Linked DNA regions of Homo sapiens: region 1 is linked to region 2. The links are contacts of gene promoters, found by promoter capture Hi-C in blood cells and fetal thymus (Javierre and others, 2016). All regions are on one chromosome and are shown on one strand. Each heading gives the region's core, a stretch centred on a gene start or on the middle of the fragment in contact. The rest is flanking DNA. Distances are from core to core; before and after follow the strand shown. Region 1 has its middle 7.6 kb from the start of EDNRB-AS1. Region 2 holds the start of EDNRB (endothelin receptor type B).

The links. The method cuts DNA at HindIII sites, captures the fragments that hold promoters and counts their contacts. A CHiCAGO score of 5 or more calls a contact.
Region 1: a fragment that was not itself captured here is called in contact with the fragment with the promoter of EDNRB in region 2 in 1 of 17 cell types (monocytes); the score reaches 5.3 in monocytes.

What each region holds. Positions count from the first base shown.
Region 1 is chr13:77,809,113-77,813,556 of GRCh38, forward strand. No RefSeq gene overlaps it. Among named protein-coding and RNA genes, the nearest start is that of EDNRB-AS1, 7.6 kb to the right of the region's middle. The HindIII fragment of the contact is 567 bases long and covers 1,425-1,991 here.
Region 2 is chr13:77,915,465-77,920,267 of GRCh38, forward strand. It overlaps EDNRB (endothelin receptor type B), which reads right to left and starts at 3,367. Exons shown (of 7, transcript NM_001122659.3): 1 at 2,627-3,367. The coding sequence starts at 3,109. RefSeq lists promoters at 3,296-4,368, 3,358-3,472 and a cis regulatory region at 3,724-3,733. The HindIII fragment of the contact is 2,812 bases long and covers 2,553-4,803 here.

The DNA of each region.
Region 1 (4,444 bases), core at 458-2,957, 110 kb before region 2:
GTTGTTTGATGGTAACAAGTGTGTTTCCATCTCATAACCATTGTATTTGCTAATGCCTTTACCTAAACCACGCTTCCCTCTCCTTCATATAACTGATGCTACTCATCACTTAGGTCTTAGCTCAATGTTACCTTCTCAACAAGACTCATGCAACCAATTTATCTATCACAGCCTTCATAGCATTTACTACTGTTTGAAATTATCTTGTTTGTTTATTGGTTACTTGTTTATTTTCTGTCTCCCCCCATAAGAATGTTCATTGAGAGGAGTAGGGCCCTTTCCTGTCTTGTCTTCTGTCCTATGTTCAGCATGTGGAATAGTTTGTTATACATAGTGTAGTAGCTACTCTACTGGTAGGATAAATGAATGAATTATCTCATCTAATATTTACAAAAAATATATTTTTTCTCACTTAAAAATGTGGAAATGGGAAAACTCAGGAAAGTTAAGTAATTTCCTTGTCATTGCAGAGCCAGTAAATGAAGGAATTTTGTGTCATTGGCTTTATCAGGTCTTCATAAGGCTCAGAATCTGTGTCTTCATTTTCATCCTCATCTTAGTCATGCCTTCATGAGAATCACCTTGGAGTGTGACTGACAGATAGGCTTAACCCTAGGACATTTAGCCATTCATTTATTTATACCCTGACATGCTCTATAGAAATTTAATGGATACCATTCTTGGTTGAATAAGTGGAAGAGTAGAAACATCCCAAGAGTAGATCAGATTAAAAATGTTGTATGAAGCCAGGCACGAGATCAGATTATACAAAATGCCTATGGGAATCTTTGTTGCATTTTCTAGGGGTGAGCTGCAATTTTGGCATTCCATTGTCTGGAAGAGGAAGAATAATTACAACGTTCACAGTATTCACAAGACAAGAACTAACCAGAGATTCAAAAGCAGAATAATGTTGGGACCCCAGAGAAGTATTCTTGGCTTTTCTCAGAAGGAAGAAACTGTGTGATGTGAGGAATAATATCCTCTACAGCATCTATATGGTAAATATCATCAAAATTTTCATGTTTTCCCTTATAATGTTATAGCACATATAAGCCAGAGTGGGTAAAACATAAACTTATAGGGACCCTAAAAATAATGTTATGAGAACCACCAAGAACAATTCTACAAGGACCCCAAAATGATGCTGTTTTGTTGTCTAGCTTGGTGCTGGGATGCCTTAGCCCAAAGGCTATATTTCAAATCATTTTTTGAAGGATCACATTTATATCAGGTCATAAATATTTTCTTTAACCAGGCTGATCAGTACTGATCAGGATTTGATGTGAAAAAGTACACACACACACACACACACACACACACACACACACACACACACAGAGAGAGAGAGAGAGAGAGAGAGAGAAACTTGAGCAACTACCTAGAGTGCAAAGACTCCAATAGTGGTTATATATGTCACCATAAGCTTTGACAGTGAAGCTCAGAATAAGCTAGTATACTTGGCATAGATCATACTTTAGATAGGACACATTTTTTTAAAATCATACTCTCTTCTACCACCTCGTGGCAGACTTGAGGCATTGAGCTGTCCCCTTGGCTTTCCATTTACGAATGGTGGCTTATTCCTGCCATAGTTTACAGAAAGTGAGACATTTAATTGTAACACTTCATTCAATCTCATGTAAGTAATGACTTAATTTTGTCTAAATTTATTGAATCACCTGGATGGCTTAAAGTATTAAATGGCCCTAATAATATTTCCTCACACAAGCAAGTCATTTTCAACAGTAGATTGATTGTACAAGATGGAAAACCTTTGGCTTGTCAAGCATATGTACAGTTGCTGGAAAATAAGTCAAAGAAACACTAATCACTTCATTTAGGAACTAATAACATCAGCCCCAAGGCTACAAGAGCCATTCCAATGGGGCTTCCTCTGTGAGGGGCACGTGATCTCTCTGAACTGGTAGTAGACTAGATTTCATCAGATAAGCTGTCAGATGCTTCATAGAACATGCCTTGGAGAATTAAGCTTCTACTGTTCATACAATTTTATCAGACACTAGCAAAGTAGATTTTCCAGTAAAACAGGAAATTGCCCTAAGGCTACGCTTTTGAACATTTATTCAAGATGTACTTTAAATGCTGTTTCAGCTGTCACTTCTTGCTATCGGCAGAAATGTTTTTGTTTTTGTTGTAGGTGAACAGTTCTCTTTAATCACCAAAATCAACTAAAGTGTGGAGAAAACAAGAGCTGTAAAATTAGAGCGTTTGCAAGACAGGTTGAGGATAGGTAGTTTTTGACACAAAGGCAATTCGAGCTCATTTGGAACTATGTTTGGGACTCTGAATTGGCAACAAAGAAACTTATGTTTCTTTTAATAACTTAATAAATATACTATATTATCACATATAAAGAGGCAGTATATAACACAGCGATTAAAAGCATATACTCTGAAGCCAGGCTACTTGCTTTCAGATGTCAGTTTCAACAATTCAACTTTTGGGCTTTGGACAGATTACTTCACTGCTTTGTTCCTCCATTTCCTTATCTGTAAAACAGGAATAATTACATAACCCATAGGGCTGTTGAGAAGAGTAGTTCTAACACTTAGAAAGCATTATATAATTATATGTACATTATATATTATTGTTATTATAGTACTCTATAAAATCTGTAAGGGATCACATGAAAAATAGACTGTAAACATATTGATTCTATATAGTAAAATATCAGAATTAATAACTTTTGAAAGGAATATCAATATAACACTTTAAGAACTGATATAAAATTTTCAATTTTGTTTAGGAACAGGATGTATATCTCAGAAATATGGAATGAATGAACATATAGCAAATGAAACAGTCAATTTTCAATGAGTGAAATGCAGGACAATGATAACCTTCACATCTTTCACTAAGAAATAACCTCCTAGTAGATGGTACATACATATAAAATATCTTATTATGCAAATATCTTTATCATAACCAATAAATGAAAAAATACAGTTATTTCCCATTTTATTATTTGTGAATCCAAACCAGAGTCTCAGGAAATGACTAGTTGATCTCATGTGGTACTCATGTGGTCTTCTACTTTCTTCTAATCTGAGAATAGAAGAACCATTAATGTCTTTTGCCTCAAGTCATTTTTGAGGAGAATAAGTTCATTTCCTTAGTATAGGAAAAGAAAATGAAGTTGGCTCCTTGACACTTGTCTTAAAAGGCAAACCTAATATTAAATTGTAGTCCAAATCTTTAAGTTTTTTCTTGCTGAAGAAGCAAACTGCCTTAGTGCACTTCATTGACCAGTATGGATAACACAAGCAACACTGACTTCTAAATGCTTGGCTATTGGCATGAAGCAATGAATGTTACAAAGTTATAATAAGAGGAAATGTATAACAGACACACTAAAGAGATACATTGTGTGAAGTGTCATTATCTCAAAGAATGCTTTCCATTTTGTTAATTACACATAACTTCAAGGTAGCCATTAATACAATTAATTGAAGGAGACTATTAATACAATACAATTATAATTAAAAATTTGAATACTTTCTTATTTTACTAAGCTGTTATAGTTATTTTGGTACTTGTTACCAAGCCCTACAAAATTATACATGGAATAAAGAGTGAACCAATTAATAACTGATGTTTATTAAGCTTGAGCTTTGGGTCATTTTAGTCTCAGTGGCCCCATGAAGTTCACACAATGCTCCTTATAAAATGAGAAATCAGGAATTGATTTTCATAATGCTACAATGTATAGGGGAAATTAAATGGACCAAAAATATACAACAGATGGTTAGATGTTTCCCAATCTCATTCCCTCTTCTTGGGCTGGTAGGAAGACTGTTTCCCAGCCCTTGTGGTAGCTAGGCTGGACCGTGTGACTATATTATGGTCACTTGGTGATCACATGTGACACGTCTTCACTCTGGGCCTTTTCATAAACCTCCCTCCATATCCTCCATGTTCTCATTTCCTCTTCTTGTGCTGACTACAGAGACCATTTGTTAAGAATGTAAGAGTCGGCCGGGCGCAGTGGCTCACGCCTGTAATCCCAGCACTTTGGGAGGCCGAGGCAGGCGGATCATGAGGTCAGGAGTTTGAGACCAGCCTGACCAACATGGTAAAACCCTGTCTCTAGTATAAAAAAAAATACAAAAATTAGCTGGCTGTGGTGCTGCACACCTGTAGTCCCAGCTACGTGGGAGGCTGAGGCAGAAGAATCGCTTGAACCCAGGAGGTAGAGGTTGCAGTGAGCCGAGATTGTGCCACTGCACTCCAGCCTGGGAACCAGCCTGGGCGACAGAGTGAGAATCCATGAAAAACAAACAAACAAACAAACAAAAACAATGTAAGAGTCCTGGAGTCATGGCTTTGAGGGGAGCTGCCCAAGAAAGCCTCTGGACTTGCATTGGGTTGTATATTAACTCACCAAGATTTCAAGGTCTGCTTGTGTATACTTGAGCATATC
Region 2 (4,803 bases), core at 2,117-4,616:
GGATGGGGTGGACCACAGGGTCTTGGGCTGGATGATCTGCTTTCAAGCCCCAGTTTCATTACTTTGTAGTGGTATGACATTAGGCAAGTTACTTCTTCACCTCTCTGACAAGTAGTTTGCCTAGATCTAAAGCAGGAATGATAACGATACCTCCTCTACAGGGTTGTTATAGTGACTTAATGAAATAAACCAAGTGCCTAGTGCATCATTAACTGGTAGCCATTATTATGATATTGTGTCTCAAGCTAAACCTAAGGCCACAAGGTAGGATTCAATAATGATGACCTTAGTGATGGGACGTAATGTGATGAATGTGTTTGTGACCCATGTAGATTAATGGATGGACAGATTTATAATGACTCATTGGCTTATTTCAGAAGTAAAAACACAGTCATGTTAAGACTGGATGGCTTCAGGGAAAAGGATGTAACTTCCTAGGGAAATCATATGGGAGTTTGAAATGAAAGGGAAACTGTATGACCTCTTGGGGAGTCAGAAATTCTCTAGTTTATTACAAATACTCATTTAACCAGACAGAGGAAATAAGATGGTTCTGGAAGAGCTGATTTATATCTGTCCTGGAGGCAGCACACCAGAACTAAAAAAATGTTCTCAATCCCACCTTCTACACAGCACTTCAGCTACTGTCTGATTTAGAAAGGTTTCTAACTGGGCTGGACATGTGGGGTTTCCTGACCCCCTAAACAGAACTTTCATAAAATCCTGTGCCAACCTAGCAAAACTAGATTTTAATCTCCCTTTGGGAAGAGATCTTGTTAGATTTATTTTAAATTTATCACAACACCTTGTACTGAAAAGTTCTCAATTCGGTTTTGATGAATTGAATTGAAATTCCTTTGCCAAATTAGAATGGGAAGATTTAGTTTGTGGGACGCCTTAAGAAGTAAAAGGGTCACTTCTGGCCCTCATGGAGTTGTGGCTGCATTTAGAGATTCAATTTCAGCTCTTACCAAGTAAATCCTCACAGTTCATCAGAATCAATTGCCATACAGGATTTTAGGATTTCTTCAATCGATTCCCCCATTTCCGGGGGTGATTCCCTTTAGAGAAAACTATATCCTAATCCACTCTCACCGCTAAACCTCAGAAATGTTCGGAATTCCCCTTAAAATATAGCTATTGGGTTAGGATTTTTAGAGATTTATGAAGGGAAATTTACAGGCATGCCTTATGGTAACTACTCCTGCCAATAGGTCAAAGCATTCCCTACAACATTTCCCAACTTTACATTCCATTTTTTTCCCCTTGTACTGAAGTACTGAAGTCAGGGCTAGCTATAGGCAAATCTGCAAAGCACAATTCCATTTCCTTACACTGTGATTGTGTTTTTATGTGCAACTTTCTATTGCTGCTGCTGCTGCTGCTGCTGGGAAAGTTTTAAATATTTTCATATGTCTTTGAAATTTTCCAACTGTTTTATTTAGACTGCTTTTTTTTTTTTAACACCATAAAGCCTCAGTAAGTGGGCACTGGCAGCCTTATTGTGGAATTGAGGAAACTGAGGCCCAGAGGTGCTGGGATGTGTCTGGAGTTCCAAAGCAACCTGGAGCAACCTGGCTCTTTGTGTGTTTCTACTGACGCCCATGGTAATCACACAATAATGTTAACTACCGAAACCCTTACAGATTTTGAGTGCTCCTTGGTCTTGTCCATGAAATAATTGATGGGGTGCCATCATATAGCTTGCACTTTGGAACCTGACAGATTGGGTCTGATCCCCAGCTCCACCTCTAATTCATTTACTTTGATCATCCTACCAGTCATCTGTAAACTAATTGTAATATCTACTTGTGGGCTGCTGGAAGGAATAATGGAAGTAACACATCTCACCCAGTCCTTGGCCCACTGTAGATATTTAATACAAAGTAGCTACAGTCCGTCACAGCAGGTGAACTGTGTTTTTCCTACTCACCAGTCTGGATCTCTTTTTTCCAGGCCATTTATTTCCTAAATACCTACTTTGTACCTGCTACTTTCAAAGTCTTCCAAAACAGTCCTTCCCAAAGTTAGTGGGCATATCAATCACATGAAGATCTTAAGATGCAGATTCTAACTTAGTAAGTCTGAGGTAGCCTTGCATTCCTAACAAACTCTCAGGTAATATTGATGCTGACTGTCCATGGACCACACACTTTTGACTAGAGGATGTACCCCATTAGGTGCACTTAGGGACTAGATCCTTCAGGACTAGTGGTTCTCAAACTTTACAGTTCATCATAATCACATAAAGGGCTTGTTAAAATACAAATTACTGTGCTCCACTCCAGAGTTTCTGATTCAGTAGGTCTGGGGTGAGGCCAGAAAAATCTTCATGTGCACCAAGTTCCCAAAGTGATACTAACATTGCTAGACTGGGGACTACGCTTGTCCTAAGCTTAGCAGAGGTCTACTGAAGACCTGAATGGAATTTTATTCCAATGGTTACTGACTTTTATGAGTGGACAGAACCAAATGGAATTTGGTTCCAAAGATTACTGACTTTTAGGAGGGGCAGAACCTTAAGAGGGAGCTAAAGGGAAGCTCCCTCTACAAGCTTTCTCATCTCCCCGTCTCCAACCAGGCCCCCTTCCTCAAGCCCACCATGATTTCAGCAGGCGCCCTTTACCTTGTAGACATTGATAGGGATGTCAATGACGATGTGCAGCAGGTCTCCCAGAGCCAAGCTGGCGATCAAGATATTGGGACCGTTTCGCATGCACTTGTTCTTGTAGATAATTCTCAGAAGTGTGGAGTTCCCGATGATCCCCAGCACGAACACAAGGCAGGACACAACCGTGTTGATGTATTTGAAAGTCTCCTTGATCTCGATGGGTCCTTGGCACGGGGGAGGGGAGATGGTGCGTGGCGGAGATCCTGCCGTCCTGTCTCCTTTAGGCACCTCCGCAGGTGCCAACGACCGCGCCAGACTGGCGTTGGAACCCTTGGGCCATAAGGTCTTAGTGGGTGGCGTCATTATCTCTGCGGTTTGCAAAAGCGGAGTGGCCCTGTCAGGCGGGAAGCCTCTCTCCTCTCCCCAGATCCGCGACAGGCCGCAGGCAAGAACCAGCGCAACCAGGGCGCGTCCGCACAGACTTGGAGGCGGCTGCATGCTGCTACCTGCTCCAGAAGGCGTCCGGTGGCCGCTCCGCAGTTTCAGAGCCTAGAGACAAGCAGAGGAAGGAAGACAGGACACTTGGGTCAGCTGCCCGAGCCAAGTCGCTGCAAACGCTAATACCGCCCGCAGCCTCTTCGCCAGTATCCACGCTCAAAAGTAACTCAAGTTTGCGCGCCAGTGGGAAACTTGGCGCTCATGACTCGCCAGCGCGGGTCGAAACTCCTTCCTGATGCCCTCTCAGCTGTTTTTCTTCCCCCGCGTGGCCAGGAGGGGTAAATAATATGCAGTGGGGCGGGGCGTTCTGGAAGGGGTGTGCCAGGGAGGGAATGATGGGGGTCCCAGGCAAAGCTCCGAACTCTTTCACGTAACGGGAGGAATACAGACACGTCTTAGTTAAGCGTGCGTGGGAACCGCGGAATTAAGGCACCTAGAGGCCAAGGGCTTGTGTCAAGCTCTGCATTTTGCCCCGCAGGGGAACCTCTATACCCCGCGATTGAACTCGAAAGACTCCTCCCGGCGGATGAAAGCCGCTACTCCCTGGCTGGCTGAGCTACAGCTCCCGCAGCGCGCCCAGGAGTGCGCCGGAGATTCGGAAACCCGCAGAGACTTCTCAAGTCAGCAGGAACTTGGAAACCGCTGTTCCCTCCAAACGGCTTCAAACACTCGCGCTCCTTCCTTTACCCAACCTAATTTTAATTTGCCCTCTCTATAGGCTTAATTTTTATTTTTTTAAAATCCCAAACTAGTAAGCCAAACCGAAGCCCCAGAATAAGGTTCAATCAATGATTTTAATTCAACACCAAGCCCGAATGTTTACCTCTCGGATCTGACAAACCAGATGCAGAGCGACGAATGGAGACCACCTTCCCGGGAGGCGGAACCCAGCTGGGTTCCAGCCTGCTCTGGGAGAGGAGCACGCCTCCCTTGAGCTGCAGGCGGGTCCGGCTCTGACGAAACGCTGCGAGAATGCCAGACAGTGTAGCCTCCACCGTTTGCTCGGGGTCTCTGCTGCCATCAGACAAGTACTTTTATTCATTCATCCCTTCCCATCAATCACCGCCAGACTCCTCCCGCGCCTTCCGACCCCGCTGCAACCTTTCCCCTTGGGCGATGCCTGGACAGCATCAGTAGTAGTTGCCCGAGGGAGGGGGGCAGTCCTCGTCCGGGGACAGGTCCCAAAAGGCTGTTTATTTGTTAGAGTTCTACGCTCTTCAAATGAACCCAAATCAAGGGCAAGTTATCACGCACCATGTGACACCCGGCAGCTCCAGACTAGAACAAGGCTCTGCACTGAACGTGATAATTGAACTTTTAATGCCAAGTGTCACTTTTCTTTCAGGTAAATGTTCCGCCGCTGTGATATTTAAGGTTGGTTTGTGGGCGCTGCTCTTTGCTCTGCTTCATTTTGCCCTGAAGTTTCATTTCAAGCCAACATTAACCCCAACACGGAACAGCTCGATCTTTTCTTCCCAGGCCCTCTCACTGCCCCGAGAGAGGATTACAAGTACTCCTCATTTTCCCCAGTACAGCTCTTCTCCTCTCTTCCTGCCACAGTATCGGTGTTAGGCAATCTCAGGCATTTTTATACTGTACCTATGACAGACTTGATGCTTATCGGAGACATGAAAATAATCAGAAAGCTGCCATGCAAATTCAACATGATATTTATTTACCAGGTAGAGCAATAC